2 separate regions of the Homo sapiens genome follow, and region 1 is linked to region 2. The links are contacts of gene promoters, found by promoter capture Hi-C in human tissues and cell types (Jung and others, 2019). All regions are on one chromosome and are shown on one strand. Each heading gives the region's core, a stretch centred on a gene start or on the middle of the fragment in contact. The rest is flanking DNA. Distances are from core to core; before and after follow the strand shown.

The links. Contacts are between HindIII fragments. The study calls those that stand out against the background at their distance.
Region 1: a contact is called between the fragment with the promoter of YTHDF1 here and the fragment with the promoter of SLC17A9 in region 2, in 1 of the 25 tissues and cell types used here (dorsolateral prefrontal cortex).

What each region holds. Positions count from the first base shown.
Region 1 is chr20:63,214,268-63,219,678 of GRCh38, forward strand. It overlaps YTHDF1 (YTH N6-methyladenosine RNA binding protein F1), which reads right to left and starts at 1,864. Exons shown (of 5, transcript NM_017798.4): 1 at 1,599-1,864; 2 at 1,310-1,334. The coding sequence starts at 1,625. RefSeq lists silencers at 1,737-1,806, 1,937-2,216. The HindIII fragment of the contact is 8,217 bases long and covers 1-5,411 here.
Region 2 is chr20:62,948,374-62,954,211 of GRCh38, forward strand. SLC17A9 (solute carrier family 17 member 9) reads left to right here and starts at 4,336. Exons shown (of 13, transcript NM_022082.4): 1 at 4,336-4,516. The coding sequence starts at 4,458. It overlaps GID8 (GID complex subunit 8 homolog), which reads left to right. Exons shown (of 5, transcript NM_017896.3): 5 at 1-102. RefSeq lists an enhancer at 3,746-4,575 and silencers at 4,127-4,446, 4,457-4,556. The HindIII fragment of the contact is 20,012 bases long and covers 1-5,838 here.

The DNA of each region.
Region 1 (5,411 bases), core at 614-3,113, 260 kb after region 2:
AAAAGAAGTGGAGCCTCCAAAAGCCCAAATGCAGAATGTATGCCCAAACGTATGGAGAACGGAGGGAAGAAAACTTAGGAGGGAAGGGGCTGCAACTGAAGGACTGTTGGGAGCTATTATCTGACTCTCCACAGTGAACCCCAAATATCTGAGACAGGTCTCAGTTAATTTAGAAAATTTATTTTGCCAAGGTTAAGGACACACCCATGATACAACCTCAGGAGGTCTTGACAACATGTGCCCAAGGTAGTCGGGGGACAGCTTAGTTTTATACATTTTAGGGAGACATGAGAACCATCAATGTAAGATGTACATTGGTTTGGTCCGGAGAGGCGGGACAACTTGAAGCAGGGAGGGGGCTTCCAGGTCATAGGTAGATAAGAGACAAACGGCTGCATTCTTTCGAGTTTCTGATTAGCCTTTCCAAAGGAAGCAATCAGATAAGCATTTATCTCAGTGAGCAGGAATGACTCTGAGTTCTGTCCTTTGTCCACCAGGAATTTCCTTGTGGGCAAACTGTGGGGGAAGTATGTAACTTTTTTTGTCTTAGAAGCTATCTTTTTCAGGAATAGAATGGGAGGCAGGTTTGCCCTCAGCAGTTCTCAGCGTAGCTTTCTCCCTTTGGCTCAGTGATTTGGGTGCCCCAAGACTGGTTTTCCTTTTACACCACTTACCTTCCCACTGTTATTATGCTCAGCCAGAAAAAGCAAGCAAAGGTAAATAAAGTGCTGGGCCTTTTCCAATCTTAAAACACGATGAACCGTATTTGGTTACACCTGAGCTGACACACAAACTGGCTAAAAAAGTGTTCCAAGTAAACGTGAAGTGTCACTTAACAGTTTTCACATGAGTGCGCTCTGAGGGTTTATCCCAAGCCATAATGTCACAGGAGATGCTAACAGACTTGGAAAACGGGCTGCAACTACCGGGGATGTGGAGCTTAGCCTGCAGAACCTTGGACTGCCCCTCTCCTAGAGCAGCCCCTGCTGGGCGGAAAAAGGCAAGTCGCTCAACCCCTGCGGCCATGTCCACCCGGCTCTCCTACCTCCCCTTCCCCAAAGCAAATCCATGATCATGCGGTGGGGAGAGACGGGCCCAAACTACTCTGAGCAATCATTTATTCACTTCTTGAGAAGCCCCTGTCTTCGACCTGTCAAATCTCCCAGAATCGTCGCACAACCTCAAGTTTTATCTCCCTGAAGCTGGCGGAAGAGAGAAAGTTTCCGGTTCCAGACGCAGCTTCCTGGACCGTTCCTTCCCCGTCCTCCTCCACTCCAGCCCGCGCCGGCCGTCCCGGGACTCCGCTCACCTTTATTATCTTGTCCTTTTGTTCTCTGCACCGCCGCAGGCCGGGACGTGGGGTACACACAACCCGGGGGAAGAGGGAAACACAAAGTTATTCACCAGAGAACTGGTCTCCAACGGGCCGCGAGCTCCGCCGGCCCCGACGCGCGGTCACGTGCGACCCCGGCCCCGAGACCCCGGTCCCGCCTGGGCCCGGCCTCCGCGACCCCGGGCTCTGCGTTCCAGCCCCAGGACCTCAACCCAGACCCCGCGCCTCGGCCCCGGCCGCGGCCCCTGTAACCCGGCCCCGCTACCTGGGTGTCCACGCTGGTGGCCGACATGCTTCATGAACAACTAGACGCGGGGCCGGGGCGCCCGCCGGCTCGGGCCTCCCCTAGAGGCCGGGCCTGTCACCCTAGCTCGCGCGGCCCCGGGCCCCGCCGCCAATTCCCCGGGCGCCGGCCGGGCGGCGGCGGCGGCTGCTGGGCGCGCGGGCCCCTGGCGAGGCGGCAGCGGCGGTGAGCCCGGGACGCGGACGCACTGAGGAGGCGTCGACTCCAATGGCGGCGGCGGCGGCGACAGCAGCGGCGACGGCGGCGGCAGGGGACGAGACTGCGCGGCGTCAGCGTGCACGCGGGGCAGGCCGGGAGCGCCGCGCCGGGCCGCCACACTTCGCGCCTGCGCGCTCCCGTCTTACGGGATGGATTTCGCTCTCAGGTCCCAGTCTCGTGCGGCGGGGCGGGGACCGCAGCCGGCTGGGCGGGGAAGCCCTGAGCCGGGGAAGTCACGTGGGGCGTGTCCGGAGGCGCCGCGGGGCCTGGCGGGAAGGGGCTGGCGGGCTGCTGCCAGGTGTACAGCCGCCCACACACACCCCGGCCACAGCCGCACCCCCGACGCGCTACCGGCACTGAGGCCTCTGTAGTTTTCCCCAAGGTCCGAAGACTAAACGCTGTTCTGGTCCGACAGCTGGGCTACGGGTCTGTCCGGGGTCGGTCTGCCCTTCCCCCGCGCGCAAACACCTGCCCGCCCAGAGCTCCGAGCCCCCGCGTGTTCCAGGTCGCGCGCCTCGGCCCTTGCCGCGGGACCTGCGGGCTTTGTTCGCTTTGCGGCCCTGGCCTTCAGCCGCAGCGGAGCCCTGGGCCCGGTCCCGGAGGTCAGCTGTTGTGTGGATGCACCCCTGGACCTGCGAGAGGCTCGCCGGCTTATAACCAAGTTCTCATGTTAGATTCTTGACCCCGATTTCATCACCAGGAGGAAAAGCAGTGCTCTGTGCCCCAGCCTAGGCCGGGCCAGGGGACTTGTCATCTTTGTTCGAGGATGGACAGCCCCTTCTTAGCAGCAACTGTGCAAAGAGAGCCCAGTTCTCAGTTCCTAACCCCTCAGCATCCCCAACCTGGACGCCCTTCTGGTCAAGGTGTTGAATTTCGCTCCCTGCAGCCAGTATCCAATCCTGCCACCCTTGTGGCTAACTCCCTACAGAGGCTTCCAGGTTGATATTTTTCTTTCCAGCTCTGGCAGCTGTAACATCTTCACGTGGCCTGGATCTGGGTCCTGCTAAAGGAGAAAGACCTGGAATGGGGTGTCAGGCAGGTTGACGTCAAATGAGTGTTTTCCACAAAGTGGGCCCGGGCAGATGCGCTAAGCAGGGTGAACAGTGACAGCAGGGACGGCAATGGAGTCCCAAGACGGCTCCAAGCCTGGACATCCGCATCAGTGGGGTAGCAGACAGCCTCTCACACTGCTGCAGGAGGAGGTGGAAACTGCCCCCAGCAGGCCGGTCAGCCACAGAGAGGACTGCTGCTCCAAGTTGCTCCAGGTCTCCCTGGAGCCCTGCCTCGCCTAAAGCTGGGGAAAGCGGGCTGGGCTTGTTTCCCTGGAACAGAGCTGGGGGATGTCTGGTGCCCTGAGGATGAATCTGGATCCCCTGGGACTTTGATGTGTTTGGGCCATGGGCAGACATCTCAGGCCAGGATGAAATCTGTGCATTTGGGGTACATCCGAAAATGAACAGCACGTTTCCAGGATGGTGGCCCACATGGAGAAGATGTGTGGGGATTGTAGGGACAGTGGGGTCCCTGGGGGCACCCTGCCACCTGCTTCTGTGTGATAAGGCCTGCGCATCCTGGGCAGGCCCTGAGTGCCTGCTTCCCAGGACACTGAACTGTTTGGCGGCCAAGACTGCAGCAAGGGGGTGTCTGGGTGGTCAGAGTAGACACTCGGACTCTTGGAGCCCCTGTCTGTCTTCTCACCCAGCTCCCATCCCTGGGCCAGGACGGTGCAGTGGTCACCACTGGAGTTCAGAGCCTCACAGCCAGTTACAGGGCCTTCAGCCTCAGGCCTACTTTCCTCCTCCGTGGTGGGTTAATTACTCCCCTTTCACAGGATGAGTGTGTGGAAGAAACTGGGTATGCAGCCCTTGGCGTCAGGCCAGGGCTCTGTCAACACTGGCTGTTACCTGCTGCCTTCACCCACAAATGCCCAGCCAGTCACAGGAGGCAGCACTGGCCCTGCGGGAAGTGGCCACTCCGAGCTTAGGGGCCTTCTTAGATGGCTGAGTGCCGGCAATGCAGGACCCTGGAGGTGTTTCAGTTTCCTGGAGCTATCTCAACAAAGTACCCGGAACTGGGGGGCTTAAAATAACGGCAATTTATTCTCTCCCAGTTCTGGAGGCCAGAAGTCTCAGATCAGTATTGCTGGGCTGAAGTGGAGACAGAAGCTCCTTCCAGGGCCCTCGGGGAGGATCCTAGCCTCCTCCAGCCTCCGGTGGAGGCCGCAGCCCTTCCTGGTCTTTCCTCCTCGCCTCCGTCACCTCATGGCCTTTTCCTCTGTGCCTGTGTCTCTTCTTATAAGGACACTCATCTGGATTTAGAGCCCACCCTAATCCAGGATAACCTCATCGTCTTGTGATTATATCTGCAAAGAACCTATTTCTAAATAAAGTCACGCAGGTACCAGGTGGACATGAGTTTTGGGGGTACACTCTTCAGCTCACTACAGAGATCACTGGGGAGGCCTCACAGTGATGCCTATGGAGAGATTTTGGAGGGTGACTCCTGGGGCTGAGTAGGTTCTACTCACAAATGTAGATGGAAGGAGAGGCCCCCACAGTGAGGCCTGAGGAGGCACCACCATGCCAGCCTAGCCCCACTGGCCAGGGAAGAGGCTGGCAGGATCCCACAGCCACTGCCCGGACCCACCCAGGCTTTTGCTGTGAACTCCAGAAGGCTCCATGCTGACCCTGACATGGAAGGAGACTGGGGGCTGCCCAGGGGCAGGACAGGTCTGGTTGGCGGGAACAGGGGGCCCTAAAGTGAATTGAATGCAGGGGGTGTGGCACCAGCAGGGGGTGCTGAGGTCCCCAGGCCAGCTCTGGGGGGAAAGCCTTTATCTTGGCCAGGCCTGAGGACCTGGGAGGGTGTCACAGAAAACCAGGAGTTGAGCTGCCTGTAACCTTGGAGGGCCACGTCCACTGCCCAGCCTGCCCAGGTTCACACCCCAGCCCAGCTCTCGGCCAGGAAAAGGGAGGTCACCCAGCACCGAATGTCAGGGGACAACTGTCTCTCCCTCACAGGGAGCAGGCAGCTCCTCATGTCATGGATGGAAACGGATCAGAGGGCTTTGGCCACTCCTCTGGGTGGCCCAGCGGTCTTGAGACAAAGCCTGCCATTTCTAAGCCTGTGCCGTCAATGACAGACAAGAGCCCATCCCCTGTGGGCCGTCTGCCTTCAGACGGGAACCTTCTTGCTCGGGGAACCTGTTGCTCATCCAAGAGCCCTTCCTAGCAGTACCCGCTCCTGGCAGCACCCTCAAGTGGTATGGGATTGTCTAAACATGACTAGCATTAGGAAGGTTTGGGTTTTTATTTATTTGAAAGTCACACAGGCGCATGGTTAAAAAGCTATCTTTGCACTCAAAGGATATAAGGTGGGAAGCAAAAACCACCACCCCCAAACCCCTCAGAGAGGGAGCCCTCCAGATGCCTGCCTGTGCATGCAAGCATGAGTCTCTGTCTCCACTATCTGCCCTTGCATCTCACGTGTTGGGAAACCGCACTTTGGGGATCCACAGTGCTGCTGAGTATCAACACCCGCCGTCCACCCACCTCGTCCCTCTCCAGGGAGGGCATG
Region 2 (5,838 bases), core at 3,086-5,585:
GTGGCATATGTGCCCCTCTGTATCTTTTGAGAAGTGCGGAATAGGTTGCTTCTACCACCTGTTCTTAATGTAACAGTAAAAGTTTTCACATTTTTCTCAGAACTGTTATCTGGAAGCTCTCTTTTTTCCTAAGGGTATTTTAATAACAAATACTGATGCATTTGTATTGAAAGTTGATATCTTGGAATGGAAGGACAGAAGAAAGCTCGCCTCTTGGAACTGTAGTTGGCTCTCCTCTCACTCTGACAGTGCTGCCCCTTTTAGTTTGTAAATCTGTACTTGGTGTGTTTAATTTGAAACCTATCGGCTGCTCTCTTGACTGGGGCACTTAATGTTTCATAAACTAATTTCCTTGGTGTGAAGGAAGTAGAACTTTTGAGCTACCCACTGCATGATTTTAAACTGATTTTAATAGCCTAAGTAATTACTCTTTTTTTTTTTTTTTTTTTGCTTAATGAAATTTTCCAAACATATTAAAAACAGAGGGAATACGCCAGCACATCCCAGTATCCACCAGTCAGCCTGACACCCACCACCACCTGCCAGAGCCCCAGGCAGGAGATAACTACAGGTGTCTGATTCTGGGTGGCTACCATGCTTTCAGGGCCATGAGCGTCTTCATGAGTGGAAGGCAGTTGTAGGGTTCTTGGAAAGGACTCAGACTGACCCCTTCAAGGGCCTGAGGTGAAATTCAGAAACTGCCCATGCAGAGAAGCTGAGCAGCGGGCATCATGGAGCGAGGCGTTGAGAGCTTGCATGTTTGTTGGGTATCAGAGAACAGGGAAGGCCTCTCCTCACCTGCTGCTCCTCCCTATGTGGCAGTGGCATGTCACAGTGTTCTTGATGTTCACACACCTGTGCCAGTCCATTAGCCTCACGGGTCAGAAGGCAGCACGGTAGTTCTTAGTGGAGGTGGGCATCACCAGGAATGCTTCAGTGTGAGCTCCCACACTACAGTCTGGAGGCTCACACCATCCTTGCACACATGGCCTTCCTGTCTTAGATATTCTGCCTTATTTTGGAATGCCATCTTTGCTTGTGGTTTTTCACTTCTGTTAAAGTAGAACATGGGGTTTGAATGGGCCTTTGGTGTAACTAGCTATGGCAAGAATCTTTTAAGAGATGTGCTCTTTGGAGATACAATGTCCTGAGCTTGTTTGCCTTTTCCAGAAGCCACAAAATGGCTTTGAAGATAAACAGGCCCATGCTACAGAGCCACCGGCACAAGGCACCTGGTGTGCAGGAGCTGAGGTGCAGCCTGTGGTTAATTGATAATAATCATGTCCCCACATCTGCACAGTGGGGGCTGTTTCTCTCATTTCACACCCCAGTATCCACCAGTCAGCCTGGTGCATGTGTGCGGGGAATATTTAAAGGGAATGTGACGTTCTGATTTGTCTGTAACATTTCAGTGTCACCTAGTTCAAGGCCAGGTTTACGGGTCCAAATTGTCCATAGTACAGAAGACCATTTATCAGGTGAAGCCCGTAAAGCCATAGGCACAGCTATAACCAAAAGAATTCATGAAAGGAGTAACAACTGAAGGTGAGTGGGTTTCCTCATGTTTGTAAATGCAGGTCACGTTGCAGGCTCTTCCGCCAGCTGTCCGTCCATGCAAGGCAGTTGGTCACCCCGCAGGCTCACTTCGGAGATGAAGAGTGCTGGGTGCAGCAGCGCCTCCTGTCCTTGGGTCTCTGTGTATTTGAGGTGGAATTGATGAGCTTGGGAACCAGGGAGAAGCGGTGGAGCTGCTGTTGCCTTGAGCTGCCCGTGTCAGGCAAGGTCTCCGCCTGGCTGTGACTTCTGCTTCCTGGAGACACATCTGTAGGCGTTCCTCACACAAACAAGGTTTTCTCCCTCTTGTGGATCACGGTGTGTGACTGACAGCTTTGGTAATTTTCCCAGCTGGCTTTGAAAGTGAAGCAGGCTGACCCGTCACCAAGAATTCTCTGCCATGGAGGGTCATGGAAGAACGGGAAGAGGTGCTGGCGGTCACAGCAGCCCAGGGTTCGTCTGTGCTCGTTTATAGATTTGTGTGCCCATCCAGTCCTCACTGGGCCCTCCCAGTTTTAGAAATGTTGAACACTAGTGCTTGTAAGATTCGAACAATGAGTTTACCAGCTCTGAGAAAAATGAACTGCTCCAGAACCTTCAAGAATGTTTCTCTGTATCACGCCCACATCACACCGAATCCATTTGTCGTCATTGCAGAGTTCATCTTTCTGGTTTTGAGCACCATCTCACACAGTTCTTTGTCTTTTTCCAGTCTGCTGTTGACTGGGTTAGCTCAGCCCGAAAGGTGCCCCCACCTTTGAGGCAGTTCCCGCACGTGATGTCCAGTACCGCGGTCTTCCCTCTTGCTGCTGCCTGTCAGTCATGGCAGAGGAAAGTGTCATCTGTCAGTCTCCTTTTCATGGACTCCTCATCTTGAGAATTGTAGTTGGGCTGGAAGGTTGCAGGGCTAAGTGGGGTGCAGGGAGGAGCCCCAGGCCCAGGGCTGGCTTGTCTTGGTTTACAAGAAGCTGTGCGGGGTCTCCTGGGGCGTCTGTGGGGGGTGTGGATGCAGAGGCTGAGCAACGGGCGCCATACGTAGTGAGGTGTGGATTTGCTTTAGGAAAATCTCTAGCATCGTCTCCCTATAGCAGCACTTGAAATAAACAAGAAGTTAGGTGGGCCAGGCCCAACAAGAGGGAGGCACGCAGCCTTCCAGAAGCAGAGGCCAGTGGGTGCTGGCTGTGACTGCCCTGTCCGCAAGGTCACCCTGTGTCCTTGAAAACCCAGGTGTTGACTGTCTATTGTCCCTACATAATTTTTCACCTTAGGCCTCAAAGATGCTTGGGTGCGGGGCAGCTCTCAGAATCCACCAGAAGCGTGGAGAGCCTCCATCTGGCCACTACCAGCACCCAGCTTTATAATGTCCCTGTGAGATGGCCCCTTCACCCACCCAGCCATCCCTGCATGGCCCGTTTCTTCAGCTCATCCAGCCTTCACTCAGGTGTCCAGGGGTGCCTCCTCAGCCCAACCTATTTGAAGTAACACCCCTTCCCTACCCCTTTCACTACTTTGATTTTTGTCTACCTGCCCCAGAACATCAGCTCCAGGAGGAAGGGGACTTTGGGTAACCAGATGGCAAATGTCTGCTGCAGCATGATCACAGATCTCGGTAGGAAATCACCATCACAGAGTGAATGGAAGCGAATCACCTCAAAGAGGGTGCTGTTGACAGCGATACGTTTAGCAACAGTTTCCAAACTTCCTGGCTATGGGCTAGGGCTGTTTGGGGCAATAAACCTCTCTCTGCCACCATCTTTTCACCTACCCTACGTCAGGATGGATGAAAGTATGACCTTGCTTTTCAGGGTGCCCGTGTCTTTCTGTTCAGAGGGCCCTGGGAGCAGGCCCTGCAGTGCAGTGGGTTGGGCTGTTGGAGACCTGAGGGCTAGGGGGAGGGAGGGGGTAAATGTGGGTCTGTTCTAAGTGCAAGGCCCTGCCTTAGACGTGTCTCCCTCGGCCCCTGGGTGGTGGCTGCTGCGTGGAGGATGGACTGAGGTGGGCCCTAGTGGAGGTGGGGGCAACGCCTGAGGAGCAGGCCCTGCCGCCTCCTGGGGAAAGGCTGCATGGTTGAGGCCTTCCCCTGCTGGCTTCATCCTTGGCATGGCAGCAGGAGCACACAGAGTGGGGGCCCCACCCCGTCACCCCTGCCCCCGAGCCCAGAACCTGGCCTGTGATGGGTCCTCAGGACACCTTTTGTCCAGGAACCCAGGGGCCAATGACAACCTTCACAGGCATCTGCTGAGAAGACATGGGCCAGCGCTGGATTTGTCCAGCTCTCCCAGGCTTGGTCCAAGGGCTCAGGAGTGGACCCATCCCTGCCCCGAAAGATCCATTTTAAAAATCAGTGACCCTGTACTTTTACTCTCTTTGCACTTGGTTAAGACTTTATCCCTGATTTTATTTGATCGGTAAGGCAGGGACTGCCATCATTCCCCATTTTATAGACAGAGGACAGACGGCCCCATGGCTCCGTGTCGTGTCCAAGGGATGGGCTGGCACCTCTTGGACCAGGCTTACCACCAGGGCCCTTCTCTGAAGCCCCAGTCTGACCGGCCTGCTGCTGGGAATCCCCCTCTGCCCCCACACTAACCTCTGCTGGGGCTGAGCCAGGGCGCGTCGGACAGTCAGGGCGACCCAGCCAGGGCGACCGTTGGCCCCGCTCCTATGGGGCAGCAGGGACCGACGTCAGCAGGGTGGGGCGGGCACCCGAGTGGTATGCCCCGCCCTGCCCCGCCTGCCCGCCCTGGTGGCCGTCTGGGGGCGACAAGTCCTGAGAGAACCAGACGGAAGCGCGCTGGGACTGACACGTGGACTTGGGCGGTGCTGCCCGGGTGGGTCAGCCTGGGCTGGGAGGCAGCCCCGGGACACAGCTGTGCCCACGCCGTCTGAGCACCCCAAGCCCGATGCAGCCACCCCCAGACGAGGCCCGCAGGGACATGGCCGGGGACACCCAGTGGTCCAGGTGTGGCGGGGGTGAGGGGAGGGGGGGTGGGAGCGGTGGAGATGGGGCCGTGGGGAGGGAGCTGAGATACTGCCACGTGGGACGATGCTAGGTGGGGAGGGCTGAGCTGGGCGGGCTCCTCTGGCTGTGGGGCCCCCTGTGTTCCTTGTGGGAGGTGGAAGGAAGTGAGTGCCCTGTCCTTCCTCCCTGCCATGAGATTCCAGGACCGGACCTGGCAAGTGCCCTATCCCAGCCAGTGTTCCTGGGGCTCTTCCAGGCAGGGCTATGTTCCCCAGGCCAGGGGCATTGTCCTGGACAGTCAGGAGGCATACCCCTCGCCAGGTGGAACCACCCTGTGTATGCATGACCCTGACAAGCAGGCGCCAGGACAGTCAGGAGGCCAGGTAGGGGGCACGGGCTGGAGCCTGCAGCTGGACGGGGTTGGGGGGGGTCCTGCCACCACGTGCCAGCTGTGTGCTGAGGACGAGCTCCCCGCTGGCTTCAGCTCTCGGAGCATTTGGTGGTGGGGAGAAGCAGGGCCTGGGCAGGTCGCCTGGCCACCAGCACTGCTGCCTGTAGGAGGCTCCCTGGGCAGGTGACGCCTCAGAAACCGGGCGAGATGGTGACCGCGGGCCATTGGTCAGCTGGGGAGGGCCTCTGCCAGGGAGCTCCTGAGAGCAGCCCCCACACTGCTGAACCCCTTGGCTCTGGGTCTTGGGCTGAGGCCTTAAGTGGCTGGACCCTGGGCCTAGACTCAGGCCCTGTGGGTTCCAGAGCAGTCTCCTGCCTGCACTGAGTCCCCAGGGTACCTACCCTGACCATGGCAAGGTAATGGCACCTTCTGGCCCCACCAGTTCCCAGCTGTATGAGGGCTGAGGACCCTAGAAGTGCTGGGAAGAGTTGTAGGAAGGCCCAAAGGGGCAGTGCCACCATCGGATGTTGGCACCCAGATGAAGGGAGCGCTGGCTGCATGGGAAAAGCTGGCAGCCCAGATCACAGCCCTGTCAGGCGCCAATTAGAGGGGAGGGCTGCCCTCAGCGGGCCCTGCCCCTTGCTCTCTTCCTCTTCCCCCACCCACGTTCATCCAGGCCTGCCGGGCAGGGCCAGCTCCCCAGGGATTCAGGGCCTCCTCACTGGCGGCTGGTTTGAGTGGCTCCGCCTTCACTACGTCCCTCCCAGGCTCGATGTTTAAAAAGGAGCCCTTGCCGCAGCCTTCACTACGTCCCTCCCAGGCTCGATGTTTAAAAAGGAGCCCTTGCCGCAGCCTTCACTACGTCCCTCCCAGGCTCGATGTTTAAAAAGGAGCCCTTGCCACAGCTCTTCAACTTCCTTTGCAGGCCCTT